Regions from separate parts of the Homo sapiens genome. Here regions 2, 3 and 4 are each linked to region 1. Evidence: promoter capture Hi-C in 16 types of primary human blood cells and fetal thymus (Javierre and others, 2016). All regions are on one chromosome and are shown on one strand. The core of a region is centred on a gene start or on the middle of the fragment in contact, and the rest is flanking DNA. Distances in the headings are between cores, read along the strand shown. Region 1 holds the start of SDC1 (syndecan 1). Region 2 overlaps LAPTM4A-DT (LAPTM4A divergent transcript). Region 3 has its middle 11 kb from the start of MATN3. Region 4 overlaps MATN3 (matrilin 3).

What was found. The method cuts DNA at HindIII sites, captures the fragments that hold promoters and counts their contacts. A CHiCAGO score of 5 or more calls a contact.
Region 2: a contact is called between a fragment that was not itself captured here and the fragment with the promoter of SDC1 in region 1, in 1 of 17 cell types (M0 macrophages). The highest score is 5.6, in M0 macrophages.
Region 3: a contact is called between a fragment that was not itself captured here and the fragment with the promoter of SDC1 in region 1, in 1 of 17 cell types (M0 macrophages). The highest score is 5.5, in M0 macrophages.
Region 4: a contact is called between a fragment that was not itself captured here and the fragment with the promoter of SDC1 in region 1, in 1 of 17 cell types (M0 macrophages). The highest score is 5.3, in M0 macrophages.

Annotation. Positions count from the first base shown.
Region 1 is chr2:20,223,491-20,226,924 of GRCh38, forward strand. SDC1 (syndecan 1) reads right to left here and starts at 1,640. Exons shown (of 5, transcript NM_002997.5): 1 at 1,312-1,640. The coding sequence starts at 1,377. RefSeq lists silencers at 7-206, 617-1,076, 1,097-1,156, 1,197-1,616, 1,677-2,056 and enhancers at 1,608-2,287, 2,288-2,967. The HindIII fragment of the contact is 9,225 bases long and covers 1-3,434 here.
Region 2 is chr2:20,087,631-20,091,239 of GRCh38, forward strand. The region is part of intron 2 of LAPTM4A-DT (LAPTM4A divergent transcript); the gene reads left to right. Among named protein-coding and RNA genes, the nearest start is that of LAPTM4A-DT, 37 kb to the left of the region's middle. The HindIII fragment of the contact is 2,440 bases long and covers 594-3,033 here.
Region 3 is chr2:20,022,373-20,025,830 of GRCh38, forward strand. No RefSeq gene overlaps it. Among named protein-coding and RNA genes, the nearest start is that of MATN3, 11 kb to the left of the region's middle. The HindIII fragment of the contact is 7,557 bases long and covers 1-3,458 here.
Region 4 is chr2:19,999,010-20,002,618 of GRCh38, forward strand. MATN3 (matrilin 3) reads right to left here. Exons shown (of 8, transcript NM_002381.5): 4 at 2,946-3,071; 5 at 1,432-1,557. It overlaps WDR35-DT (WDR35 divergent transcript), which reads left to right. Exons shown (of 3, transcript NR_110235.1): 2 at 197-268. Among named protein-coding and RNA genes, the nearest start is that of WDR35-DT, 11 kb to the left of the region's middle. The HindIII fragment of the contact is 3,780 bases long and covers 1-3,330 here.

The DNA.
Region 1 (3,434 bases), core at 390-2,889:
CCGCCACTTCCGGAAGGGGAAGCGCCCCTGGCTCCGCACCTCCCCTCTGCATCCCTGGGGATGGCCGAGCCGGCCCGCAGGAGGGACCCCGGGACGCCAGCACCGGGCGCGGGGGCTGGGGAGGCGAACTCGGGCGGCAGACTCGGGCACCGGGCGGCCCGCGCTGACACCTGGCTGCGGCCCAGGTCCCAGCCCCCGTCAAGGCCGGCGTTACGGGGCTGTTCCCAGGAAAGGGTTACAGGGGCCGAGAACAAAGCGCCCCCATTGGGGAAGGCGGGCTAGCGGCCGGTGGCCGGGGCGGGAGAGCCACTTTCTGGGGACCCTCAGGCTGCTCTTTGTCGGCCACGTCCCTCTTTAGTGGAGCGTCAGCCCCGCTGAAGGTGGATGCTGCATCCCACCCAAAGGCCTCTTACAGCCCCGAGCTCCACATCTGCCCCTCTTTTCTCCCAGCTGCACTGGGCGGGCCAAGGGACCCGCCTTCCCTCCGCGCGGCTTCAGCACAAAGCCGAGCCGGGGAGCGGGAGGCCATTCCCGGGTCCCCTCGCGTGGAAGGCGCCTGCGCCTCGGCCGTGCCCGGCACGGGAACGCGCCCTCCGGGGCCAGCTCAACTTCAGCAGCCCAGAAGTTGGGCTCCTCCGGGTCTCCAGCGTTCCGAGGCCAACTTCCCGGAACCTCCCGCTGCCGGGCCGGCTCAGCTCACCTCGAGCCGCCCACGGCAAGCCCGAGGGCCCTGCAGACGCTCGCCCGCGCCCCCCACGCAGCCCTGGCCCGGCTCCCCGGGCCAACGCGGCCGCCTCCCGCTCCCGCGCCGGCCGCGCTGCGCCCAAACTTGCCCTGGCGCAAGGGGCGGGGCGCCCGGGCTCGGCGGCGCTGGGGCGCAAGCCCGCGGGTCTGGTTTGAATTAGGGTCTGCAGGGGGGGCGTTGTGGCCGCGGTCACTGCATCCCCCCGGGTCACCGACGGGGGCCCGGCCGCCGCGGTGGCCGGGGCGAGGAGGGTGGGAACGGGCGACCCCGGGCGCCGCTGTGGGCTGGCGGGCTCCGACAGATGTGGAGACGTTTTACATAATTGAGCGCGGGGCCCCGGCCCCCCACCCTCCCCAGCGCGGGACCGGTGCGGCACCCACCGACAGCGGAGGAAATTGGGGCTGGAGCCCTGGTCTCGGGGCTCACCGTCCCGGGACCCGCTGGGCTAGCGCGGGAAGAAGGGAAGTCTTCGCTCCCCCTCCCCCTCCACGTGCACCCGCCGGCATCCGCGGGTGACCAGTCCCGGCTTCCCGCCGCCTCCCCGCCTGGCCGCCGGCCGCACTCACCGGCAGGGCCGGCTGCAGGCTCAGCGCCAGCGCGCACAGCCAGAGCCAGAGCGCCGCGCGCCTCATGCTGCCCGGACCGGCGGCGGGAGAGCGGCAGGCTGCGCGGGTCGCGGCTGCGGGCCGGCTTCGCGGGTTCCGCTGCTCGATGCTCTCTTGGGCGCCTGCCCAGCGCGCCGCTGTCCCAGGCGAGGGCTGCAGGGTCCGCCGGCTGGAGTCCGCTCTCTACTGCCGGATTCCTCTCCGCTCGGCTCGGATTCGGCCCGCACCTCTCCCGCCGAGCTCCGCCTTATAATAAACCCACAGGCCCTTCCTTAGCCGTTGCAAAAACTGGCCCCCCACCCCCAGCTCCGCCAGGTCTCCCGGCCAGCCCCAGTCCACACCCCCCAGGACCCCGCCCCCCAGCCACCCCTCCCGGCCCCTTCGGAACGCCCCACCCCCGGCCCGCTCCTAAGGTTCTTGCCTGCTTGGCTCCCGCTCCTCCGGTGGCCGAACGTCGCTTTCGGGAGCTGTGGTCCCCGCAAGCCGCGGTTCCCGGCCTTTCAGCTCGGCTGCTCCCTGGGTGGTGGGGCCGAGGCGCACCCCCTTCTGCCCGGGCCCGGAGTGCGGAGGCGCAGCCCGGGAGAGGGGCTGAAGGGGGGCAGGCAGTCCTCGGGCGCGAGTGTGCAGCGCCCTCTGGGCGTGGACGCGGAGCGCGCTCCAGGTGCGCAGGACTCCTAGCTCTCTTGGGGAACGCTTTCTGGGGCAGGGCGGGGACCCGGGGGCGATGGGGCCTTCAACCGACGGGCAAACACACACAGACACACCCCGGCTGTCCTCCAGCTGCGATGCGGCTCGCTGCGCCCCGCCGGCCCAGATTCTCCCGTACGCTCGCGTTCTTCCTGCACTCCACAAAGTGCTGGAGACTTGGGGCCTTAGTTTAAACAGCTGCACCCGCACGGAAGGGCTGCAAGAAAAAGGGGGACGGGGGCGGAGTTCGCAGCGTTTTTCTGTGGAAGACAACGCCCTCTCTCTTCATCTGAGCTAAAAGGAAAAATAAGTAACTTCTTTGTTCCCCGGTGACCTCGGGCACGCGGATCTGAGGAGCACCGTGCAGTTGCTGCTCCTTCGAGATCCCCTGCGAGGCCCTGGGCCTCAGTTCAAAAAGCTGTGGAAGGCCTGCGGGTGTAGGGGAAACGGCCGAGAGAGCAAAGGGGAAGAACCGGACGGGCCCTGCCCACATCTGGCAGGCAGGAGAGATGGTGCCAAACGACCTTCGCACCTGGGCCCTGAGACCAAAGATGGCGTCGTCCTCCCCTGTCTTCCCTAGGCGGAAGGCAAGAACTTGGGTCGGCCTGAGCTGGGGACCAAGAAAATATCGGGAAGTGTCCAGTGTTCCTCTTTAAAAGAATTAAACCTTCCTGGGCCACGCAGGGACTGACCGTGGGACCCTGGACTCTCCTCCACCTTCCACCGTGGAGCAGGCTCTGGAGCCGAGCAGCCTCCTGCGTCCCCATCTCATCCCCCCACTCCTCCTCACAGCACTAAAAGATGATGGCCTGCTTGTACCCCTGCTCCTGAGCACCTGTTTGACCTCAAAGAGCTCTCGCTTTTGGGGTGTCCGTCTCCCCAAGTCTGTCTAGGGGGCAGGAAGACCTTCATCAGGGTTCTTGGGGGCCGATGTGGGCTCGCTGAGTGCCTGAGTGATGGATGGTCTCACAGCACGGCACCACGGAGGTCCAGCCGAGCTCGAGGAGTCCCTGTGGATTAAAAATGCCCTTTTCGAAGGTTCTACCTCTACCAGAGGGTGGCTCCACAGATCCCTTCAACCCAGTATGGTGGAAAAATAGGAATTTTGGAATCTTACCTTTCTCTACTGCTCACAACAGAGGAAACTGGGGTCAGGGAGGATTTGATGGAGTCTTTTCATTTTTTAAAAGTCACTCACGGCCAAGCGCGATGGCTCACGCCTGTAACCCCAGCACTTTGGGAGGCCGAGGCGGGCAGATCACCTGAGGTCAGGAGTTCTCGACCAGCCTGGCTAACACGGTGAATCCCCATCTCTACTAAAAATACAAAAATTAGCCGGATATGGTGGCAGGTGCCTATAATCCCAGCTACTCGGGAGGCTGAGGCAGGGAGAATCG
Region 2 (3,609 bases), core at 564-3,063, 140 kb before region 1:
CTGCCCCAACACTTCAATACTATTTTATGTTATTTTTCTTATTAATATAAGAAGGCAGGAATGTCAGGCCTCTGAGCCCAAGCTAAGCCATCATATCCCCTGTGACCTGCACGTATATGTCCAGATGGCCCGAAGCAAGTGAAGAATCACAAAAGAAGTGAAAATGGCCAGTTCCTGCCTTAACTGATGATATTCCCCCATTGTGATTTGTTCCTGCCCCACCTTAACTGAGCAATTAAACTTGTGAGATTCCTTCTCCTGGCTCAAAACCTCCCCCACTGAGCACCCTGTGACCCCCACCCCTGCCTGTAAGAGAAAAACCCCCTTTGACTGTAATTTTCCACTACCCACCCAAATCCTATAAAACAGCCCCACCCCTATCTCCCTTCACTAACTCTCTTTTCGGACTCAGCCTGCCTGCACCCAGGTGATTAAAAAGCTTTATTGCTCGCACAAAGCCTGTTTGGTGGTCTCTTCACACGGACGCACATGAAACCGGGTTCAAGCAATTATCCTGCCTCAGCCTCCCCAGTAGCTGGGATTACAGGCACCCGCCATCATGCCCAATTAATCTTTGTATTTTTGTAGAGACAAGCTTTCACCATGTTGGCAGAGCTATTCTTGAACTACTGACCTCAGGTGATTTGCCCGCCTTGGCCTCACAAAGTGCTGGGATTACACGCGTGAGCCACTGCGCCTGGCCTAACTTCTTTTCTTTATAAATTACCCAGTCTGTGGTATTCTGTCACAGCAAAAGAAAACAGACTAAGACAGAGTCCCTTGATGTAATCATCAGGGGGTCCTTGGCACAGAGCAGGGCATAGAATAGATCTGGGCAGAGAGGCAAATAGAAAATACTCAACACAGTGCACGTACAGATTTCCATTCCCTCCTCATTCCATCCTTAGCTGTTTGGATTAATCATGTTCCTACGTCTTTCCTCTAGGACCTACAATGGCTCCCACTGTCTTCAGCACCAAGGTTAATCATTTTCGCATCTGAGGAGTCTTAGCCTTTCCCCTGTAATCTCCTGGAATGCATCTACTTTTCTAAGTGGACAGGACTCCTAGACAAACAACTAATTCATTGTGGTTCAATCCAGCCTCACAGCTTTTGCCTATGCTATTCCCTTGGACAGTCATGGAACATAGAGTTGGGAAGGCTTTTAGGAAGATCTGTTCTTACCCCTTTATGGCCCAGACAGGAAACCTCAGACTTGGTAGGAAGAAGTGACACACTTAAAGTGACACGCTTCTCCCACCTACCAACCTTCCCTAGCCTCCTTTCTCCAGCCATGGTCTCTGCTAGAAAGCCATGCAGGCTGCCTGTCCTGTCCTTGGACTGCATTTAAGGTTCTCCCCTTTGATCACTGACTGCCTTGTTTCTAGTTGCTGCCTGTCTCCAACTCCCTCTTCCTTGACCAGAATACAAAGTTCTTTTTCTTAACTTTCGCTTCAGCATAGTGTTGGGAATTTGAATGCAACAATTTTCTTTTTAAATTACATCCTTTGATTATAGTTCAACAATTTAATCATAGTTATTAAATAACTTAAACATCTGTCTAGTTTGGTACCTGTGGTATAATGGGGGGATAAAAAACCACAGGCTTTAGAATCAAATAGCCTGGGTTTGTTTGTATTTTTTTAAAAACAAACCTTTGTTGAATTTACTCTGGTGAAAGAAGTTCTTATTGCAGCTGAAAGTGTCACACACAGACTGGGGAGTAAATGTCCTGTCCTGGTAGAGTGAGGACCCTTCTGATGGATGTTTAAACTACTTCTGCATTTTGCACTACTTCCCCTAAGACATGATAACTTTTGAACAAGATTAACTTCAATATGAAGTTTAATTTTTTCATTAGAATCAGGATTACCAAACACCCTTTTCTCTAGCTTTGTTGTTCTTCACCTGCAGTCCCTGGATAAATTTCAAGGATCTGGTGAATTCTTTTAGAGAGTATGTAGAAGTAAAACCACCTTTGCAAAAATGATAACAGTGAGAACATTATGGCAATGGCAGAGATCTGATCTACCAACCCCACTCTTGCCTTCAAGCTGACTTCATTATTCATAGGCTTAGGGCTAGCTTTGGAAGACAATAATTTATAGTTTAAATAATAGCCCTTCCCCCAAAACTCAACCACCTTTGTAAAGCTAATGAGAGACCACCAGGTTAGGGGGAGGAGAGGAGCCTAAATTCTGCTAAGGTGTAGACATAAATTATTGCCAGCCATTATTCCGGAGGTCACAAGATACACAACTTTTCCAATCACTCCTGCAGATAACATCATTCTTGTGGAACATAAGGTTGGCCTTTTGAGATAGCTGCTAGCGCCTGTTTTTATCAGAACAGAGCAGAAAAGATTCTTTTGAACTGATAGCCCAAATATCAGTGACTCTGAGTTCCTATTAGCAGGAGGCAGACCCTCAGTACCTCTGCAGCCTGTGTTTGACCTCTTGGTTATTTTCTGGGCATCTTCAAAAGGGGACCCCAAGAGTTCCCGAGCCCATTGGTCCACCACAGATGTCCTGGCACTCCTGGTATCCTCTCTTGGTCTGGCCTCCCCAGCCAGTGCCCATTGCTCTTCAAGTTTCCTGAAGGACTCTCGGTGATGTGATCACCTGAAAGCCGCCAAGGTCCACTCCCCATGGCCAGAGCAGTGATGGTGCTCTGCCTCCGTGTAAATGAGGAAGAAAAGTGCTATTCCTGATCCTGCCTCCCACCAAGTGCCTCATGAAAGCAGCCCCTCGGCTTCCTCCCTCTGTTCAGCCTGCACCCCCTCAAAGAAGCCCTCTCCGCCTGGGATGGCCTCCCCAAGCACACTGGAGCGCCAGCTCATGGAGGGCAACATGTCCATAGCTTGCTGACAGTATGCACTCACACAGTTCAGCTATTAATTTCAACGTGTTGATTAGGTGGTGTTTATAATATTTTTATTTTTTTAGAAACAGTTCTTTTACTTCCGAACAATGTAGTACAATTATCTGTGAGCATATCTGTGGTGTTTATGTATTTTCATTTTCCTGAAGAAAAAGCTTTCGAGAAGCCCTCATAACGGCCGGTGTGAAATGCCTGGGCAGTGACCGCCTCACCCCAGGAACAAGCCACGTGAAGGCCCAGGGTTGTCCCTCCTCCTCCTCCACACTTCGGAAGCTCTTTTCTTCCCTTCTTTCCACATTGTCCCTGCACATACACCCCTCGCCACCTCCTACCCCACACAAATTCCCAGCAGCTTTGGTGACAACTCAGACATTCCTCATTACACGGGTCTATACACAATCTTTTATGAGTTAATAACTACAGTTTCCCCCAAGGACAATGGTCACACTACATTTGTGGGACTCAAGGGCCCTTTTTGCTGAGGAAGGAAAGAAGCCAGGAAAAAAAGGAAGGAAGGAAGGAAAGAAGAAGGAAGGGAGAGAGACAAGGAAGGAAGAAAAGCAAAAAGAAGGATCTTCCCTAAAAGACAACTGAAGCCTCCACCTCTGGTGTCGGAAGCTGTTTGCAACCCCTTTCCCACTCAGGGAAGCGTTAAAGTTCTTAGGGGTCAGCTTGAGGTTGAGCCCGTTACACAGTGTGAGCACTCAGGTGTGAGCATGCAGGTGTGTT
Region 3 (3,458 bases), core at 922-3,421, 200 kb before region 1:
AGACTGGGTAACTTATAAAGGAAAGAGGTTTAATGGACTCACAGTTCCACATAGCTGGGGAGCCTGCATAATGATGGCTGGAGGCAAAGGAGAAGCAAAGGCACATGTTACATGGCAGCAGGCAAGAGAGCTTGTGCAGGGGAACTCCCATTTACAAAACCATCACATTTCATGAGACTTATTCACTACCATGAGAACAGTATGGGGGAAACTGCCCCCATGATTCAATTATCTCTACGTGGCCCCACCCTTGACATGTGGGGATTATTACAATTCAAGGTGAGATTTGTGTGGGGACACAGCCAAACCATATCAGGAGGCAACTGCTATGCCGAGGGAGTTTGTGTCCTGCAGTTTGTAGTATCTCATTCGAATGATCTTGGCAACAGGCCTGTATCTGCAGTAAGAGCAGGTGCAAGGAAATGGCCACCAGCAAGGAAACTGCACAGTGGCCCCATGTCTTTGTTATGAATGGGACTTGCTGAGCATCTGGATCTGGGGTCATGAAACATCTGGGGCCAATGAGTGACTATCCTCCCACCTCCTTCTCTCCACACCACACTTCTCAACAGCTATCACTTCTTAACCCATTTCTTACTGCCTCCCCTGTACCATCCTGGGGAAAGTGCTCTTCCTTCCTCCCCTGCACTATCCTAAGGAAAGTGCTCTCCTAAGTGCATAATGGCTCAGATCACCAAGCCCAGAGGCCTCTTGGTAGAGTTTAGATCACCCTGTTTTTGGCAGGAGCTCCAGTGTTAGCCCCTTCATCCCAGGTTGTCCTATAGTCCTGATTCTACACTGTCTCTCTCATTTGCCACTTCCTTTTCTTCTTTCCATGCTCTATGAAGTGTGGAAGTCCACAGGCTTTTTTCTAAATCAGCTTTTAAAAAGGAAAATCGATTTTTTTCTTAGTATAAAAGTAACATATACTTTACTATACAGAATGTAGAAACTGTAGATAAGCAAAAGAATGGAAAGACCATCCATAGACTACCACCCAAAGATAAGCTATGTGGTGTTACCTCTTTTGTCTCTGCTTATATATGCATCCATTTTTATTAAAAATGAGACCATGCTATGTTGTAGGGTTATAACTTGCTTTCTGTACTTAACATATAGTGAACACTTTTCTGTTATATTCTTCAAATACAACATTTGTAATGACTGTACTGTATTTCACTGTATATTTCATTTACTTAACCAATTTTCCATTGTGGGACATGTAGTTTCTACTTGTTTTTAATTGCAAGCTGTGCTTCACTGAACCTTTTTTCATGAATCTTTGTGAATTACTATTATCTCCCTAGAAGAAATTACTAGAAATGGAAGGGCTGAAATGACTAGGTCTTGATACTTTGTGTACCATCTATGTTAGGAGTCTCAACTACCAGCGTTGTTTCAGCTACCACCTCTATATTGCTAATTTCCAGATCAGAGTCTCTTGTCCCAACCTACTCCTGAGCAATAAAACTACATTTGTAACTCGCTTTTGTACTCCTCTATTTAAAGGTCACAAAAGTACGTCATGCTCAATCATAACCAAGAATGAACTCATCTTCCTCTTTTTTAAAAAAGCTCACTGTCCTTTATTCCCCATTTATTCCACTATTCCTCTGGCCAGACAGGCATGAAAGAAATCTTGATGACCTCCTTCCTCTCTTGATCCTTTCATATTAAGTTGCGAAGTCTTTGATTGACATCTCTACCAGTTCAAGTCCTAACCAACTCTCAAGACCTATCTCAAATCTGCTCACTGTAGGAAGTTTATCTTCCCTTTTCCAGCCAGACAGGATCCCTGAAGGAGGGAGAAGAGAGGACAGAGAAAATATTTGAAGAGATAATGACTGAAATTTTTCCAAACATGATGAAATCTATAAACCTACAGATTTAAGAATCTCAATGAACCTCAAATGCAACAAATGTGAAAAAACAAAAAGCCAGCATCGAGGAACATCATAAACAAATTGTTCAAAATCAGGGCTATAAGAGAAAATGTTCATTACCCAAAGAAAAAAAATGTTCCATACAGAGAAAGTCAAGGATGACAGTAAATTTCTCATTAGAAACAATGTGTTCAAGAAGACAGTGAAGCAATATCTTTAAAGTGCTGAAAGAAAAAAAACAAAAATAAACCAAAAAAAGGTCCACTTAGAATTCTACATCCAGGGAAGATAGCTTTTGAAAAACAAAGGTAATTTTTTTTTTTTTTGAGATGGTGTCTTGCTCTGTTGCCCAGGCTGGAGTGCAGTGGAGCGATCTTGGCTCACTGCAACCTCCGCCTCCTGGGTTCAAGCAATTCTCCTGCCTCAGCCTCCTGAGTAGCTGGGATTACAGGCCCGCACCACCATGCCCGGCTACTTTTTGTATTTTTAGTAGAGATGGGGTTTCACCATGTTGGTCAGTCTGGTCTCAAACTCCTGACCTCATGATCTGCCCGCCTTAACCTCCCAAAGTGAGTAAAAATATTTTTAGATATACAAAACCCAAAAGAACTTATCACCAGCAGAACCACACTGTAAAAAATGTTAAAGTCTTTCTGAAAGAAGAAAAATTATACCAGATGGAAATATGTATCTACACAAGGGAATGAAGAACACCAAAAATGGTAACTAAGAGGGTACCTATGTAGTTTTTTAAATTATCTTTTTATCTTTAAAAGATCATGAACTGGCTGGATGTGGTGGCTCACACTTGTAATCTCAGCACTTTGGGAGACCAAGGAGGGAGGATTGCTTGAGGACAGGAAATTGAGGCTGCAGTGAGCTATAATTGCACCATTGCACTACAGCCTGGGTGATAAAGACCCTGTCTCTAAAAAATAATAATAAAAGATAATTAACTGTTTAACCAAAAGTGAGTCACAGAAGGTCAGAGGAAGAAGGAATGTACAATCTCATTTGCAATCTGAATTACTTACTGAATTCATATAATTGGTGGGAGGGCCAGGAATATAAATCAAGTTCTCTGATGCAACCTAACCAAATGATAACAGATATACTAGTCCCCGGTTATCTGTGGTTTTACTTTTCAAAGTTTCAGTTATCTGTGGGGGACTACAGTCCAAAAATACTGAATGGAAAATTCCAGAAGTAAATAATCCATAGGCTTTAAAAAAATAATTTATAAGTTTTAAATTGCATGCCATTCTGAGTAGCATGATAAACTCTCACACTGTCCTGCTCTGTACTGCCCTGGACATGACTCACTCCTTTGTCCAGTGCATCCACGCTGCCTGCATGTATTACCCACCTATTGGGCACTTCGTAATCATCTTGGTTATCAGATCAACAGATCACAAGAAGAAAGGTAGGTACAGTATAAGATGTTTTGAGAGAGATACAGAGAGGGAAACCACATTCAGATAACTTTTATTAAATTGTAGTTGTTCTACAGAACAGAGCCCTCAGAAATAACGCCGCATATCTACAACTATCTGATCTTTGACAAACCTGAGAAAA
Region 4 (3,609 bases), core at 191-2,690, 220 kb before region 1:
TGTATCTAAAATGCCTAGAATCCTGCATGGCCTACAGTAGGTATTGAAGAATATGGAATACTGGCATCTGGGAGTGTTGTCTGCCTTAACTGAAAATTTTCTTTGATTTATGTTTTTTTTTAAAATAGATTGCTTCACTTTATTCCATACTATCTGTTAGTTTAAATGGAAATTTGTTTTTGGTTTGTTTTCCCAGGTCTTCAATGTTCCTGGCAGCTTAAAGTACCAACTGGGACACTTGTCACTAGTTTGAGAAGTGCAGCCATAGGTGAGTTCTCTCCACCCCAACTTTCTTAGTCATCCTGCCCTGAACAAATCAGCTCAAGCCAGTCCCCCGCCAGTGCCACTTTCCACTTGTCTCCATTGAAACCTTCACCCTCCTTCAAGGCCCACCACCAGCCCTTCGCAGATGCCCACCTCCCCAGCCTCTACAGCCCTTTGTTTCCATCAGTCCCTCTCCCTGGCTCAGTCTCTGCTTTCATAAGGAGCCGGCTCTCTGTTCACCCAGATTTAACTTGCTCAGAGGCAGAAACTTAGGCTTCTTTGTATGCTCCCAATGCTTAGTTCCATACTGGGAACAAAGTAGGTGTCCGGTATTTTTTTACTGGTTTCCCTTTAAAAAAAAAAAAAAAAAAAAAAAAGAGGGGACTGGGTGACATGCCATTTCCCTTTGTCTATCTTGATGAAGTCTGTATGTCCTCAAGGGAGAGGAAAATATATGTCAAATCTAAAACACATTCAATATGCCAAAGCTAAACGGCACCTTGAGAGCTTGGAATTTCTCTCAGGAGTGTTTTTACATTTATAAATGCCACCCTGTCCTGCCAGTAAGTTTAAATCAAATTAATGAGGATTAACAGCACTGGCCTGGGCTCATTGGCCAACGTATAAGGCTGAGTTTCACCAATGATTGATCGTCTAGAAACTGCCAGGGAGTGACTGGCCTCAAACTTACTGGAAGATCTGTGTGGGTCTAATTCAGGCATTCACAAAGTCTTCTTTACTAAAATCATCCAGCTTTAAGATTAACACTACAGAAAAGTTCCAGGCCAAGTTTTAACTGGAAAAAGATCAGTTCATCCTATCACACCAAATAGTTACTGTCCAACTGACTTCCACTAAAGTTTTCTCTTTGCTTAAAAGTCTTCAGTGTACAGAGCTATAAAATTTTCCTGGATAAGGACCCTACATTTAGTTAGTTTTTCTCATATCCCCCACTCCCTACCTATTTCCCAGTAATTTTCTGAAGTAATCTATGTTTGCTCCAGTGAGCTCACCACCCTCTGAGCAATGTGTGCCTTCATCTAAAAGTGTGATAGAATGTCTGAACCTTGATCTTAAGTTACCTTTAAAAACCTCTTTGCTGGTGAGTTGCAAGTTGGTTTCATGTGAAAGACCCAAGTATGAAAGAATTTTTTGAGTGGATCTTACCTGAACATGTTTTTTTATCTGCATTCAGAGTGTAGCCCTCATAGCATTCACAATGATGGGACCCTGTTCTGTCATTCACACAAATGTGCTGACACCCATGGGTACCCAAAGCACATTTATCTTGAGCTGTGAAACAAAAAGTCAGGAGAAAAGAAATAGAAGGTGGAAAAGTATTTTATTACCCAGGATAGAAACCTTATTTGCAGCTGGAAACATATGAGGAAAACTTACTGGAAACTATTCAAAGCCATTGGCACTGTTTTTTTCTAACTAGAAGTTAACTGAGTTAAGTGAAATCCTGCACATACAATAATTATTCTCTGACCTTCCACAATTGCTTTTGGAAATCATCAGTATTGAGTTTTTATAACCTAAGTATCTCATAAATACTTTCTAGCATTCCTTTTAGGCTTATTGTACTTATCCCAACTCAGCGGGATACCAACAGTTGTGTGGCTAATTACATTAGATTCAGAAAAACATAGAATTAGAGTTTGAAGAAATTGTAGTTCAACCCTCTCCTATTTTTTAAATGAGGGAAAGGAGCGCGAGGGAGACCATTTGATTCAGAGCAGCATAAAAACTCAAGACACACATTTTCATTCAATGCACTTTCCTCTCTACTGATATATTTTTAAACTATTTTTTACTTTTAAACTTTTCATCTGAGATAATTTCAGATTTATGAAAAGGTTGCAAAAACAGTGCAAAAAATTCCTGTACTTCACCCTGTTTCCCCAAACAGTAATTTACATAACCATAGTATGATTATCAAACCAGAAATTAACATTGATATAATATGATTTACTAATCTACAGACTTTATTCAAATGTTGCCATTAATGTCCTTTTTCTGGTCCAGGATCCAATCCAGGATTCCACATTGCATTCAGTTTCACATCTCCGTCCTCTCCAACCTGGGACACTTCCTAAGTCTTTCTTTGTCTTTTATGACTTTCACGTTTCTGAGAAGTACTGGAAAACTATTTTGTGAACTGAGAGTGTCTCTCAGGTTTTTCTAATCTTTCCTCATAATCCTGAATTTTTAGCAAGAATACTACAGGTGTGCTGTTGTGTCCACAGTATTGAGCACAGCATGTCAGGTCATACATGATGTCACTATGTGTCATCACTGATGATGTTAACTTTGATCACTTAGTTAAGGTGATGTCTGCCAGTTTCTCCACTATAAAGTTACTGTCTTTCCCTTTGTAAGCAACAGGTAACTTGTGGGTTGTTATGTGATTTCAACCTACTGAATTGTCTGTAGCATTTGGGAAGGATTGTTCAGGCTGGCTACAGAGAAGGAAATGAGCAACATATTTATGTATTTGGGCCGAGATACATACATGTTACCATTTCTAACATTTTGGATAAGACTTAAAAATGGGAAAAGCTCAAGGTGGCAAGAGAGGAAAACACACCAACTTCCCAGTCAATGTGACCTGCCCTTCCATCACCGGGTAGGTAGGCAGAGAGCTAAGTAGCAATAGTAAAGACTCCTCCCTCACTTACCTGAACAAGTTTTCCTGTCTTCATTCAAGGTATAACCTTCATAGCACTCACAATGATAAGAGCCACTTCTGTCATTCACACAGATGTGCTCACATCCGTGGGTGTTAAGAGCACACCTATCAAGAGCTATCAAAAGATGATTGGGACAAATGTAAATGCATGCAGAGCATGGCAGAAATAATTGTGGGCCACGCCACTTACAGTTATACACACACACACACACACACACACACACACAGAGCTAATGAAACAAGGGAGGGGCAGCTGGGAGTTGGGAACCAACCCTCCGGTCTTGGCTCTTTCACTAAGAGACCCTGTGACATAGGTAAGTTTTTTCCCTTCTGTCCATCTCAATTTCATTATCTATAAAATTAAGTTATCTCTAAGCTTTCTTCCTCCCAAAAACTTTTTTCTAGGATTAAAAACAAAACAAAAAAATATATAATTCCCATTCCTCATTGACTCCATGTATGTATCTATGTACCAGACCAGTGAGTACCCCTCTAACTTCTTTGCTACTTCTAGATTCCATGAGCATCTATGACTAGAGAGGAAGAGGGTAGCTTGCATGTAATGAAATAAAATCCAGGAAAATTTTCAAATCCTCAAAAGGGCTAAGAATCTTGGACCCGTTTCTTTTCCTTTTTGTGTGTGTGGGTTCTGT